Regions from separate parts of the Homo sapiens genome. Here region 1 is linked to region 2. Evidence: promoter capture Hi-C in 16 types of primary human blood cells and fetal thymus (Javierre and others, 2016). All regions are on one chromosome and are shown on one strand. The core of a region is centred on a gene start or on the middle of the fragment in contact, and the rest is flanking DNA. Distances in the headings are between cores, read along the strand shown. Region 1 overlaps ZNF345 (zinc finger protein 345). Region 2 holds the start of ZNF649 (zinc finger protein 649).

Evidence for each region. The method cuts DNA at HindIII sites, captures the fragments that hold promoters and counts their contacts. A CHiCAGO score of 5 or more calls a contact.
Region 1: a fragment that was not itself captured here is called in contact with the fragment with the promoter of ZNF649 in region 2 in 1 of 17 cell types (non-activated CD4 T cells); the score reaches 8.1 in non-activated CD4 T cells.

What each region holds. Positions count from the first base shown.
Region 1 is chr19:36,870,473-36,877,043 of GRCh38, forward strand. ZNF345 (zinc finger protein 345) reads left to right here. Exons shown (of 3, transcript NM_001242472.2): 3 at 6,313-6,571. The coding sequence starts at 6,359. Among named protein-coding and RNA genes, the nearest start is that of ZNF345, 23 kb to the left of the region's middle. The HindIII fragment of the contact is 1,351 bases long and covers 4,647-5,997 here.
Region 2 is chr19:51,899,255-51,906,287 of GRCh38, forward strand. ZNF649 (zinc finger protein 649) reads right to left here and starts at 5,763. Exons shown (of 5, transcript NM_023074.4): 1 at 5,660-5,763; 2 at 839-1,040. The coding sequence starts at 853. ZNF649-AS1 (ZNF649 antisense RNA 1) reads left to right here. Exons shown (of 3, transcript NR_110733.1): 3 at 869-1,210. RefSeq lists a silencer at 2,299-2,545 and enhancers at 3,896-4,441, 5,532-6,076, 5,795-5,914, 6,405-7,029. The HindIII fragment of the contact is 3,228 bases long and covers 3,887-7,033 here.

The DNA of each region.
Region 1 (6,571 bases), core at 4,072-6,571, about 15 Mb before region 2:
TCTTGGATTCCTTGCCTTCCTGTTTCTTGGTTTGGTTCTTCTTGATATTGGTGGCATGTGAGAAAGGATGAATGAGAATTAAATTTTGTGAGTTCTGGTATATTTTTCAACCACTATATTGATTCTTTGGCAGGGCATGGAATTCTACATTAAAAATATTTTTCCTCAGAATTTTAAAATTATGATCTCTGTCTTATAGTATTGTTTAGAACTCCAAAGCCATTTTCATTCCTGGTCTTTGGTTTATACCCTGTCTTTGCATATTGGAGCCTTTTAGGGTATTTTCTTTGTTCCCAGTGTCCTAGAACCTAATAAAAATATATGTAAATGTAAATCATCTTTTTTTTATACTACATACCAAGTGGACCCATTAAATATGGAGACTCATTTCTTTCAGGTCTGGGAAGTTGCCCTTAATGCTACTTTTTAGAACAATCTGTATTTTCTGTTTTCTTTGAAAAATTTCAAACATAGAGAAAAAAAGATTATTCCAGTGAATTCTGAATACCCATTTTCTTCCTCTGTTTGGGCCACTGTAACAAAGTACCATAAACTAGTTATCTTATAAACAAAAGAAACTTATTTCTCACAGTTGTGGAGGCTGGAAAGTACATGATCAAGATGTTGGCAGATTCAGTGTCTGGTAAGGACCTGCTTTCTGCTTCATAGTTGGCACCTTCTCTCTTTGTCCTCACATAGTAAAAAGGGAAAGGCAGTCCTCTGGGTACTCTTTTTTAAGGACATTAATTACATTCATGAGGGCTCTGCCCTCATGACCTAATCACCTCCCAAAGGCCCCACCTCCTTACCCCATTACATTGATAACTAAAGTTCAACATTTCATTTGGGGGTTGGGAGGACACAAACATTCAGACTCTATCATCCATCACCCAAATTCTTCAGTTGTTGCCATTTTGCCACATTTCCTTTATCTTTATTAATACACACACATACACTTTTTTTTGTGAGTCATTTGAAAATATGTTGGGGACATCTTCACATTTTACCATTAATAATTTTAACATATATCTCCTTAGTATTAATGATATATCTCCAACCTAAGGAAATTAAAATAGACTTAATAATATTCTTAAGCATTTTATATTTAGACAGCTCCAGTAGTCTTCAAGCTCTCTTTATTTAGCTGCTATTGTGTTTGTTTGTTTGTTTTACTTGGGTATGTGTTTGCCTGATCTAGGATCCAGTCAAGATTTATATATTGATTTGGTCATTGGATCTCTTTAGTCTCTTTTAATCTGGAGCAGTCTCTCATTTTTTGTTTTATATGACTTTGAATTTTTTTGGTTTTTTTGAGATGGAGTTTCACTCTTGTTGCCCAGGCTGGAGTGCAATGGTACGATCTTGTCTTACCACAACCTCCGCCTCCTGGGTACAAGCGATTCTCCTGCCTCAGCCTCCCTAGTAGCTGGGATTACAGGCATGTGCCACTGCACCCGGCTAATTTTGTATTTTTAGTAGAGACGGGGTTTCTCCATGTTGGTCAGGCTGGTCTCAAATTCCCGACCTCAGGTGATCTGCCCAACTTGGCCTCCCAAAGTGCTGGGATTACAGGCATGAGTCACCATGCCCGGCCCTGTTTTATATGACATTGAATTTTTTTGAGAATCCAGGACAATTATTTTATAGAATGTCACATAACCTTTATTTGTCTCATGGCTTTCTCATGTATAGGAAGCTTAGATTCAGGTTAAATATATTTGGCAAGCATACCACATAGGTGGTATGATGGTACATCTTTTATTGTATTACATTGGGAGGAACATATTGTCAGGTTGCTCTACTACTGTTGATGCCAAGTGCTGTATGGATGTTTGTCCCCTCCGAATCTTATGTTGAAATTTTCCCCCCATTGTTGGAGGTGGGGCCTAATGGCAGGTGTTTCAGTTATGGGGATGGATCCCTGATGAACAGATTAATGCCCTCCCTGGGGGGCAGTGGGTGAGTGAGTTCTTGCTCTTATTACTTCCCAAAAGAGCTGGTTGTTAAAAAGAACCTAGCACCTCTCTCGACCCTCTCTTTTGCTTCCTCTCTCTCCACATAATCTCTGCACATCCCAGCTCCTCTTCACCTTCTGCTAGTGGAAGCAGCCTGAAACCTTCATCAGAAGAAGCTGTTGGTGCCATGCATCTTGTACAGCCTGCAGAACTGTGAGCCAAATAAACCTCTTTTCTTTATAAGTTACCCACTCTTAGATATGTCTTCATAGCAACACAAGTAGACTAAGGCATCAAGTTTTACCACTTAAGATTAAGGTGGTGAGTACCAAATCTTTCTATTAAACAGGTATATATTTTTCCCTTTATAATTAATAAATAATCTGTAGAGTGATACTGTGAGATCAAGTGAATATCCTTTTCCGCAGCACAATTCATTATCCAGCTTTAGAATCCATTGAGGATCCTGAATCTTTTATCCTATTGACGATTTTTAAATGGTGATTTTCAGGTTCCTCCGTTTCTTCTAGCACACTTTGTAGATTCTTAGCAAACTTCTAAAAATGATTTCTTCTCAGTAGACGTTGGACTTTGTTGCTTGATCTCCCATATTTTCCTATTTTCCATTTCTGTATCTTTTTTGTATGGGTTTTAAAGATATTTTATTATTTACTTTTGAATGATTTGTTTTTATTCCAACTTTATATTTTCATTTTCTATGAATACTTTTTTCACTTAATATTTCTTTCATATTATTCTATTCTTGTATCATGTGGAGTAGCTTCTCATATCCTTATGAGAATATACGTTGTGACTTTTGAGGTTTTCTTTGTTCTCCTATATAGTCTGTCTTCTGAGTTGCTTTGGTTGCTTTGTTTACTGTCTTTTATCTTACAGGCTTTTCTCAAATATCTAATATTTGCCTATTTTTTGTTTCTGTTGTTTTTGTATATATTTAAGATATACAACATGAGGTTTTGATACATATTATGAAATGGTGACTGTAGTCAAGCAAATTAACATGTTCATCATCTCACATAGTTACACTTTTTGTGTGTGTGTGGCAAGAGCACCTAAAAATCTACTCTCATCAAAAATCTCAAATACAATACAATGTCATTAACTATAGTCCTCATGTTGTACATTGGATCTCTAGACTTATTCATTCTACATGTCTGAAACTTTGTATCCTTTGACCTGCATCTCCCCATTTTCTCCCTGACAGTCCCTGGTAACTACCATTCTGTATGCTATTTCTGTACTTTTTTTTTTTTTTTACATTCTACATATAAGTGAGATCATGCAGTATTTCTCTTCGTCTCCCTTATTTCACGTAGCATAACGTCCTCCAGTTTCATGTCTGTTTTGTCAAATGGCAGGATCTCTTTCTTTTCAATGGTGAATAATATTCATTTATATATATCACAATTTCTTCATCTGTTCATCCATCAGTGGGCACATAGGTTATTTTCATGTCTTGGCTATTGTGAATAATACTGCTTTGAACATGTGAGTGCACATATCTTCATGAGGTAGTGATCTATTTGTAATTTAGAGTGGGCCCTAAGAAGCTGTATGCTATATATTTTGTATGTTGATTGTTAGACTTTTATGGGTACTTAGTTCCCTCCACTTCTTAAGTTTTTCTGGGGTTCTGCAGCATAAACCGTACACTTTTTTATACACAAAAAGTGTAACTATGTGTGGGCTTTCCTTACTTTTAGTTAAGATTATATCTTTTTTGATTGGTCATTGTTTATCTTACACTTTCAACTTAAAATGTTGGCTGGGCATGGTGGCTCATGCCTGTTATCCCAGCACTTTGGGAGGCCAAGGCAGGTGGATCACTTGAGGTCAAGAGTTCGAGACCAGCCTGGCCAATATGGTGAAACCCCACCTCTACTGAAAATACAAAAATCAGCCAGGTGTGGTGGTGGGCACCTGCAATCCCAGCTGTTTGGGAGGCTGAGGCAGGAGGACCACTTGAACCTGGGAGGCAGAGGTTGCAGTGAGCTGAGATTGTGCCATTGCACTCCAGTCTGGGTGACACGAGTGAAACTCCACTAAAAAAAAAAAAAGGGGGGTGGGGTGCCAGGCCTGGTGACTCATGCCTGTAATCCTAGCACTTTGGGAGGCTGAGGTCGGGAGTTCAAGACCAGCCTGACCAACATAGAGAAACCCTGTATTACTAAAAATACAAAATTAGCCAGGCGTGGTGGCACATGCCTGTAATCCCAGGTACTGAGGAGGCTGAGGCAGGAGAATCACTTGAACCCGGGAGGCGGAGGTTGCAGCGATCTGAGATCATGCCATTGCACTCCAGCTTAGGCAACAAGAGCGAAACTCCATCTCAAAATAAATAAATAAATAAGCTGAAAATGTTTTGTTGCTGCAGCTTCCTCTTTAATTTCCTTTTATGTGGTGGTTTTGTTCTGTTTTACAAATTCCTTTTCATTCCTTTTAGTGAGGTTTTGGAAAGCGTACGGGGATAAATGCACGTGATCCACTTGAGCTTTTTCAGAGAAATTATGTTGTATGGCTAGAGAAATCTAGTTTTTAGATGTTTATTTGTAAGGATAATACATTTTGCAAATAATTTATTATATTATTCAATAAATGCATTTAGGTTTTTTTTGCATGTACCAGAGTTCAAGTTGATTAAATTAATAGATATTATCTTTGTCTTCATGAAGCTTGGCTCTATTGTAGCAGACAGAGGTTAAACAAGCATTCAAACAAATATGAAAAATTTAACTGTAGGGAATGGATACGTAAATTACCTATTATCAAAACAAAACACAAAGAAAAGAGGAAAAAAGAGCTCTGAGAAATGATAGTAGAGTGTGCATAATTCAGACTGAACATGTAGGAAATATTTTAAAGATACATCATTTAGCAGAGACCTAAACCACTGCCAGAAACTTGCAAGGCCAAGAGTAGGGGCAGTGGATATAGGGGGACATTTCAGGCAGATGAAACCATGATGGGGATGGGTCGGTACAGTTTTGTGCATTTGAAGAACTATGAAGACTACATAGTAGCTACAGCTTATTGTTGGGTGGGGGGTGCAGGGAGGGATATTAGGTTGAAGAGACAGGCAGATCACTGAGGAACTTTTAAGAGCGAGTTCATTTTGAGCAGAACAGTTCCAGGCTAAATATCACTCTGGGTGCTAAGGGTGCAAAACTGGAAATGCAGGCAGGTAGAAGAAATGCTGGTTTAGTGTCCAAGCAAAAGATAATTTTGATTTGGATTAGCCAGTTGGAGACTGAAAGAACAATTTCAAGACATATTTAGACCTGCTCTAAACAGGATTGTTATGTAAGTTGTAGAAAGAGATTGGTGCCGAATGTTTTCACTTTTTGGGATTTGAGGTATTCACTCAGGGCCTTAGATAGTATCTTTAAATCCATTCCCTTTCCTAGCCTCTACTTTTGAGGCAAATAAGTCTCCCAAAATAATAAGCACTGCATAGTTACTTTATGCAAGTATGTAAGTAGATTTGGTGTGATCAGAATCATTCCATAATCATCAAAGATGAGGTTCAGGATATTTATATATCTTCATCTTTCTTGCAGTCTTCTAGTAGTATCACATTGCCTCCTGTCTTGTCTTCCCTTTCCTCTTATGTTAAAACCAGATTCTGTTCCTCTGCTGTAGCCCTTACTGAGCTCCATCTTCTCTCAATGTTATCATCATAGAATTTGGAGGCAAACTTATTTCTTAAATGGCATAAACAAACCACATTCTAACCACAGATGAATCTTCCCTCTCCATAGCTCATTCCATACTCATTTAGCACATTAGTCTTTCATTGGGAAACTGCTCTTTGTGGATTATCTTTCTTTTCTGTCTCCATCAGTTTATATGCAAATTATGTTTATTACTGAAACATCCCAGATTTCCCACCCCAGGAAAAATGTAGTACTCCCAACAACCCTGATAAATGAATATGAGAATTACTCTCATTTATAAATGTTTATAGCACTAGATTCATCTCTTAAAAAATTAAGACAGGGCCAGGACATCTGTATAATTACCAAGCTTTCAAAGTCTGCAGGACTTTTAAACTAAACTAAACTACTATTTAAAACTACTATTTTAAATAAATATCTAAACTACTATTTAAAAATAATCTGTTTCCTGAAAACCTCCTCCACTTTCTAGTCTGACTTTTACTCATTTTCTCTGCTTCCCTAATCTGTTTTTCAAATTGCCCAGTCATATGTGAGAACTGTATAAACCACTCAATTTTTATGAAAATTAAATTGTAGTTAAGTCTTTCGTATCTATTATAAACGTTTAATCTCTCCCAGAACACAAAAAAGTGAATGTTTGCTTTTATATTTTCTTTCAGACTATGAATCAAAGTTGAGACCAAGAAATTATTTCTGAAAAAGGATATGGAAAACCTTACAAAACACAGCATTGAGTGTTCAAGTTTCAGAGGTGATTGGGAATGTAAAAACCAGTTTGAGAGAAAACAGGGATCTCAGGAAGGACATTTCAGTGAAATGATATTTACTCCTGAAGACATGCCCACTTTCAGTATCCAGCATCAGAGAATTCATACTGATGAGAAACTCCTTGAATGTAAGGAATGTGGGAAGGATTTT
Region 2 (7,033 bases), core at 4,513-7,012:
AAAGAGGTGAGAGGTTAATAACTGGATTTGAACACAGGGAAGGGCTCTGTATTTTCTGAGACAACATGACATTCTAAAGCAAACCCTGTGGATCTCAACAACCCAAGCCATTGCCAAAGAGAACTTTCAACTCCCTTTGGTCAAATCTGTACTTAAACACCAGTTTAGTGACCTGTTCATGGAGCTCCTTTGAAAGCAAACCTTGCATTTTTTAGGCAATTAGGTTTACTCACAGATAAACACAGACTGCAACAAGGTTGGGTATATAGGCCGCAGTGCTGTGAGCTCTGGAAAAACTGTGTTCATTAAACCCTTCTTGGTATAGTCCCATAGAGGACTCAGAATAATCATGTAGAAACAGTCACACAAAACTTGCTTGTGTATCTTTTGGAAAAATGCTGTTAAGGACAAAAAGTCTATCTTGTCACCTCTAGCAAAAAGCATCAAACTAATTTCCCAAGATTTAAGTGCCATGAAATACTGACATCCCCTGAGGAACGGACCCGCTTTCTCCTCAGAATCAGTGCACATCATGTAACTTACCATGATTCTCTGGGTGTGATGGTGGCCAAAGATTTTGGACACAAGCTGACACTTAATGTAGCCAACAGGGTCTGGCAGAGTCGCACATTATATTCCAACACTGGTCACATGTGAACTATGTGAACAAAGTATTTGTGATCCCACTTTGTCCTGGATTAAAGGTACAGTCTAAGTCTGTTTCTCCCCAGAGCTCATTTTTTCCAATTTATACTTTTAATGTAAATGAACTGATTTCTTCAGACTTCCACAAATCCATCAGGGAATCGAGTTAAGAATAAAACAAACCAAAAGTTACCTGGGCCTTTGTCATTTTCTTCTGTTTCAGGAAATACCCAAGAACTGGGATGCTTCGTCTTTGGTTTCTTCTGGATCCTCCCTAAATTTTGGCTAAGAAATCTGAGTCTCCATTTAAGAGTGTTCCCAGAAATGATGACATCCACATCCAGGAACCTCCTCCTTCCTTCATTTGAACTCTCTTGCTTCTGGGGAGCCAGGACCTATGGAGTAAAAATCAAGTTCATTTGGTGACACATTCCCTCCGGGCCCAGATGCTGTCTCTGCTGCTGTAAACTCTCCTGCAGTCAAGGCCAAGCAATATATCTAAGCATCCCTTTGTCAGGTGTCCCCAAGTCTTTACATCCCAGGGCAATAAAACAACACTCTGAATGTGGGGAGTCATATGGCAGTGGGCTTAACCAGGAGCCGGCATATCTGGCCACTTTCCAATGCTTCAAAGGAGTGTCTTTCTCCTTAAGCACAGTGTTTATAAATAAGAGAGCAGGTCACGCTCTGGTCATGAGAACGTGATGGTAATAAGGAGGCTTTCCTCCTCAGAGGCCTCCTGTGATTTTCCAAAACTTATTGTCCCATATTTTTATGGCCAGTTTATGCCAGCACCCCATAAGCCTTTTTCCCAACAATCGTGAGACACACAGAGAAGAAACACACAGGTAAAAGAGAAGGCCATGTGAAGATGGAGGCAGAGACTGGAGTGATGCTGCCACAAGCCAAGGACACCTGAGAGTCTGTTAGAAAAGGGGAGACAGGTGAATGAATGTGGGCAGCTGTGCCGGAGCCCCTCAAGACCACTCCCAGATGCAGTGATTCACTAGGTGAACTCACAACACTCAGTCTATAATTATATTCATGGCAACCACTTATTACTGTGAAAACATACACAGCAAAACCAGCAAAGGTAAAAGGTACATGTGGCAAAGTCTGGAGGAAACCAGACATAAGTTTCAAGTTCAGTCTCTTTGGAGTCACACAGGATACACTTAATTCCCCGAGCCACAAGTCATGACAACACACGTGAAATGCTATAGACCAAGGAAGTTTATTAGAGAGAGATTGTGTGCCATGGTTTTTATTGGGGGCTGATCGTGAAGGTGCTCACTGCCTAACATTCACCAAAACTCCAGAATCCTAGAGGAAAGCATGTGTTCAGGATAAATCACATTGTTTGAAAAAAACAGCTTAGGCACAGTGAGCCACTCTTATTAGGAAATAGTGGGACTGCCTCCAAAAATCTAAGCTCCCAAATGCCAGCTGCTATGGTTTGAATGTTTGTGTCCTCCAAAATTCATGTTGAAACTTAATCTCCAATGCAATGGTATCAAGAGGTGGGCTTTTAGTAAGTGATTAGGTCATGAGGGCTCCTCCCTTGTGAGTGGCATTAAGGCCCTTATAAAAGAGGCTTTGGCCAGGCACAGTGGCTCATGCATGTAATCCCAGCACTTTGGGAGGCTGAGGTGGGAGGATCGCTTGAGGCCAGGAGTTTGAGGCTGCAGTGAGTTGTGATTGCACCACTGCACTCTAGCCTGGGCAACAGAGCAAGACCCTGTCTCTTAAAAATAAAAAAATAAAAAAAAATAAAGGCCGAGCGTGTTGGCTCACACCTGTAATCCCAGTACTTTGGGAGGCCAAGGTGGGCAGATCACTTGAGCTCAGGACTTGGCAACATGGTGAAACCCCATCTCTATAAAACATACAAAAATTATTCAAGCATGGTGGCACATGCCTGTATTCCCAGCTACTCAGATGGCTGCGGCAGGAGGACTGCTTGAGCCTGGGAGGTTGAGAGGTTGAGACTGCAGTGAGTTAGGATGGTGCCACTGCACTGCAGGCTGGGTGACAAAGTGAGACTCTGTATCAAAAAAAAAAAAAAAAAAAAACCTAAAGAAAGAAGAAATAATAATAAAAATAAAAGAGGCTTCACACACAGATCGGCCCTTTCTGCTCTTCTGCCTTCTGCCATGTGAGGGCACCGCATTCTTCACCTCCAAAGAAATAGCGACAAAACACCATATTGAAAGCAGAAATCAGGCCCTCACCAGACACCAAACCTGCTGGTGCTTCGATCTTAGACTTCTCAGTCTCCAGAACTATAACAAATAAATTTCTGTTGTTTATAAATTATCCAGTCTCAGCTATCTTGTTATAGCAGCACCAACAAGGCTAAGACAGCATCCTATAATTTAATTCAGTCTGAGACTGTGTATCTAGATATAGTGTCAGACACCACAGATTAAGGGCTCAGTTCAAGCCTGCCCCCAACTTCAGACGCAAGTTGCAAGCAGCAGGTTGTCACCTGTACCTCTGATGGACCAGCTATAAATCAGGATTCACACGGCCTCCTCCTCAGGTTCGATTAATTTGCTGGATGGCTCACAGAACTCAGGAAAGCACTTAACATTTACTGGTTTATTTCAACTCTTTTCCTGTCTAGAAAAACGAAGTGCAGCTCACTGCCAGCGCTTATTTCATTTTACATAAACATGCTCTTTGAGGCTGCAGTAAATCTGATTTTCAATGTGAAAATAAAATATAAAAGCTGTTCTAGGAGTTATTTCTAAACAGAACTAACATCAGAATCATCTGAATCATCAGAATTCTCGATTTGGAATCATCAGAATTCTCGATTTGGTAAAAATCGGATCCATCCAGTGAGTCTTCAGCCAAGAACTGTTTGAGAATGATGTTAACATCACATGTAGGAATGCTACGTTTTCTAGGATTTGACATTTTCAGTGATCGAGAACTACTACATTTTGTAAATGGAAATACCACTACTAAAAACAGAATGCTATAAGTAGAATGATGTCTTTTGTTTCCCAAGGCGACCTACTAGAGCGATGTGAAAATAATAAAAGTGAGATCGTTCATGGCAAAGTTATCTCGGGGTAAATGCTCCAGCTGCAAGCACCAAAGGTGAGTATTCTCAGGGCAAATGGGAAAAGGAATAAAGGATATTACGAAGGATACAGATGAAGAGGCAGATGGAAGGGATAGCACAGAGCAAGGTTTGTAGCAAGGGGCGTGGGACTTCCATGCCCTCCACGGAAGCTTATTAGAGACTCAGTTCACCACCCTCAGGCACCTCCACATGCTCAAGAATCTGTAAGTTCCCCAGAAGTTCACCAGTCCTTTTGAGTTTTTACGCTGGTTTCATTATGTGGGCATACTTGATTAAAACACTAACCACTGGTGATCAACTCAACCTTCAACTTCCCTGTTGCCAGGCAGAGCTAAAATTTCCAACCCTCAAATGACATGGTTAGTTGCCCTGGCAACCAGCCTCCCCCGTCCTAAGGCCAGCCAGAAGCCCCCAGTCACCAGCCATCTCAATGCCACACAAAAAGGCACTGTTTACTGAAGAGGTTCCAAGGCTTTTGGGAGACATGTGCCAGGAAACAGGACAAAGATCGATTATACATTTCTTATAAATCGTAACAATCATAGCTAGGCGCGATGGCTCATGCCTATAATCCCAGCACTTTGGAAGGCCGAGGCGGGCAGATCACCTGAGGTCAGGAGTTCAAGACCAGCCTGGCCAACGTGGTGAAAGCCTGTCTCTACTAAAAATACAAAAATTAGCCGGGCGTGGTGGCGGGCGCCTGTAATCCCAGCCACTCGGGAGGCTGAGGCAGGACAGTCGCTAGAACCCAGGAGGCGGAGGTTGCAGTGAGCTGAGATCGCACCACTGCACTCCAGACTGGACAACAGAGCTAGATTCCGTCTGGGGGATAGGAGGAAACTTTGATCCCCAAATGCTCAAGGAGACTGATGCTTAAGCAAACTAAATATTGCCTGAGAACGACTCCATACTTCTATATTTGAGTCCTTGTGGATAAACTGCAACCTAGCTTAACAGACAAAATTGAAAACCGAACTTAATCGTATGCACCTGTAACAATAGCTGAGTGGTGGCCAGTCCCAGCGGCCATACTCATAGACTGCTGAATGTTCCAACTGCGTTCAAATAAGGCAAACGCCGAATGGTAACCAATCTCACTGTTTCTGGACCTCGCTTCCGATTCCTGTATGTCACTTTACCTTTTTTGTCTATAAATTTGTTCTGACCACGAGGCACCCCTGGAGTCTCTGTTAATCTGCTGTGATTCTGGGGGCTGCCCAATTCGCGAATCGTTCATTGCTCAAGGAAACTCCTGTAAATTTAATTCGGCTTCAATTTTTCTTTTATCACTGATTTGAGTAATAATAAAACTCCGGTCTCCCCGCACAGCCGGCTCTGCATGAATTGCTCTTTCTCCATTGCAATTTCCCTGTCTTAACAAGTCGGCTCTGTCTAGGCAGCCGGCAAGGGTGGGCGGTTATAGTTTCACAACTCAACCCCAGCCAGGGGCCTGGGCTTGTAAAATACCAGATTTTACAAGCCTCTGAGCCCCACATGCCTGGGCCTCCCCGAAACACTTAACACACATCCCCGATTCACCCCAAAACCTACACCACACACCCTCGTACGCTGCCCAGCACCCCGGCTTCATCACCGACTTTAAACTGCAGCATTTGGAGTGATAATAATGGCGTCGGTGATAAAGCCGGCGTGCTGGGCAGCGTCCCCCTAGAGTTCTCCATCCAGTGATCCAGAGGCCTACTAACAGAGTGACCCTCAGAGACCCCAAACTCTGACGCCGAGTCTCAGTCGCTGAACTCGACAGACCTTTAACGCCCGACCACAAGAACTCTCCCACGCCGGACCGCAAAGGCACCCCAACCCAAAGGCTCCACCGCCCAGGCCGCCAGCTCTCCCCACAGGCTCCTCAGAAGCTCCCTACCCCTTTAACCTACTCCACGGAGAGACCCAAACACTCACCTGATTTTCTTCTGGCTACACCTAAATTCCCTGAATGCTTCCTTTCCTGGCCCTTAAACCCCGGCACTGGCCTATGGCGGCGGACGAGGGCGCGAGTCAATTCTGCCGCGCTAGGACGATGGGACATGGGCTTCTCTTCGAGGAGGTAACATGTCCGCGCCCTGAGCCACGGCTCTCTGGGCGCGGCCATCTTGGTAGATCTGCCGTACAGAAGGGAAACAGTTGTTCTTGTGTCATTAAACCGGGATGACTCTCCTGAAAGCAAAAATTTGAGGCGCAGGAGCATTTTCTAGAGTTTATCTGAACAAACAGCAATTCATGAATTAGGAAGCATCAAACCAAAAGAAGTCTCGCGCTTCTATGCTTAAAGCATTAGACACAAGTATTCACAGGGTGAGTGAAGGAGTAAAACAAAGAAATTATTTGATTAGTTACAATTATAAAAATGCATTTTTTTAAATTTGCCTTGGAAAGTCCCTAATGACATAATAGCATGTGAGTTGCCTACTTTTGATCGGTTGAGATTGAGTTTTGTCCTTCCCTAACACAAGCATTTACCAGAAATGACTCAAGTGAATTGTTGCTTATGTTTGCAGGTTAAGCAAGGTTAAGGCTGTTTTTAAGGCCTACTGGGTTTTGTTTGCTCAGGAGTTTTTGAATTCTGGTCTGCATTTTAATTTTGCTTTGACACAGGAGACAGTGAAATGGCACTGATGTGTTCCCTCTCCTGACACCTCAACCCCTGCACTGTGAGGTTGGAGCACTAACAACAGTGCACTGTGGGGAAAAGAAAGAGAGATCAGACTGTTACTGTGTCTATGTAGAAAGAAGTAGACATAAGAGACTCCATTTTGTTCCGTACTAAGAAAAATTCTTCTGCCTTGAGATGCTGTTAATCTGTAACCCTACCCCCAACCCTGTTCTCACAGAGACGTGTGCTGTGTTGACTCAAGGTTTAATGGATTTAGGGCTATGCAGGATGTGCTTTGTTAAACAAATGCTTGAAGGCAGTATGCTTGTTAAAAGTCATCACCACTCTCTAATCTCAAGTACCCAGGGACACAATACACTGCGGAAGGCCACAGGGACCTCTGCCCCAGAAAGCCAGGTATTATCCAAGGTTTCTCCCCATGTGATAGTCTGAAATATGGCCTCGTGGGAAGGGAAAGACCTGACCATCCCTCAGCCCGACACCCGTAAAGGGTCTGTGCTGAGGAGGATTAGTATAAGAGGAAGGAAGGCCTCTTGCAGTTGAGACAAGAGGAAGGCATCTGTCTCCTGCTCGTCCCTGGGCAATGGAATGTCTCGGTATAAAACCCGATTGTATGTTCCATCTACTGAGATAGGAGAAAATCGCCTTAGGGCTGGAGGTGA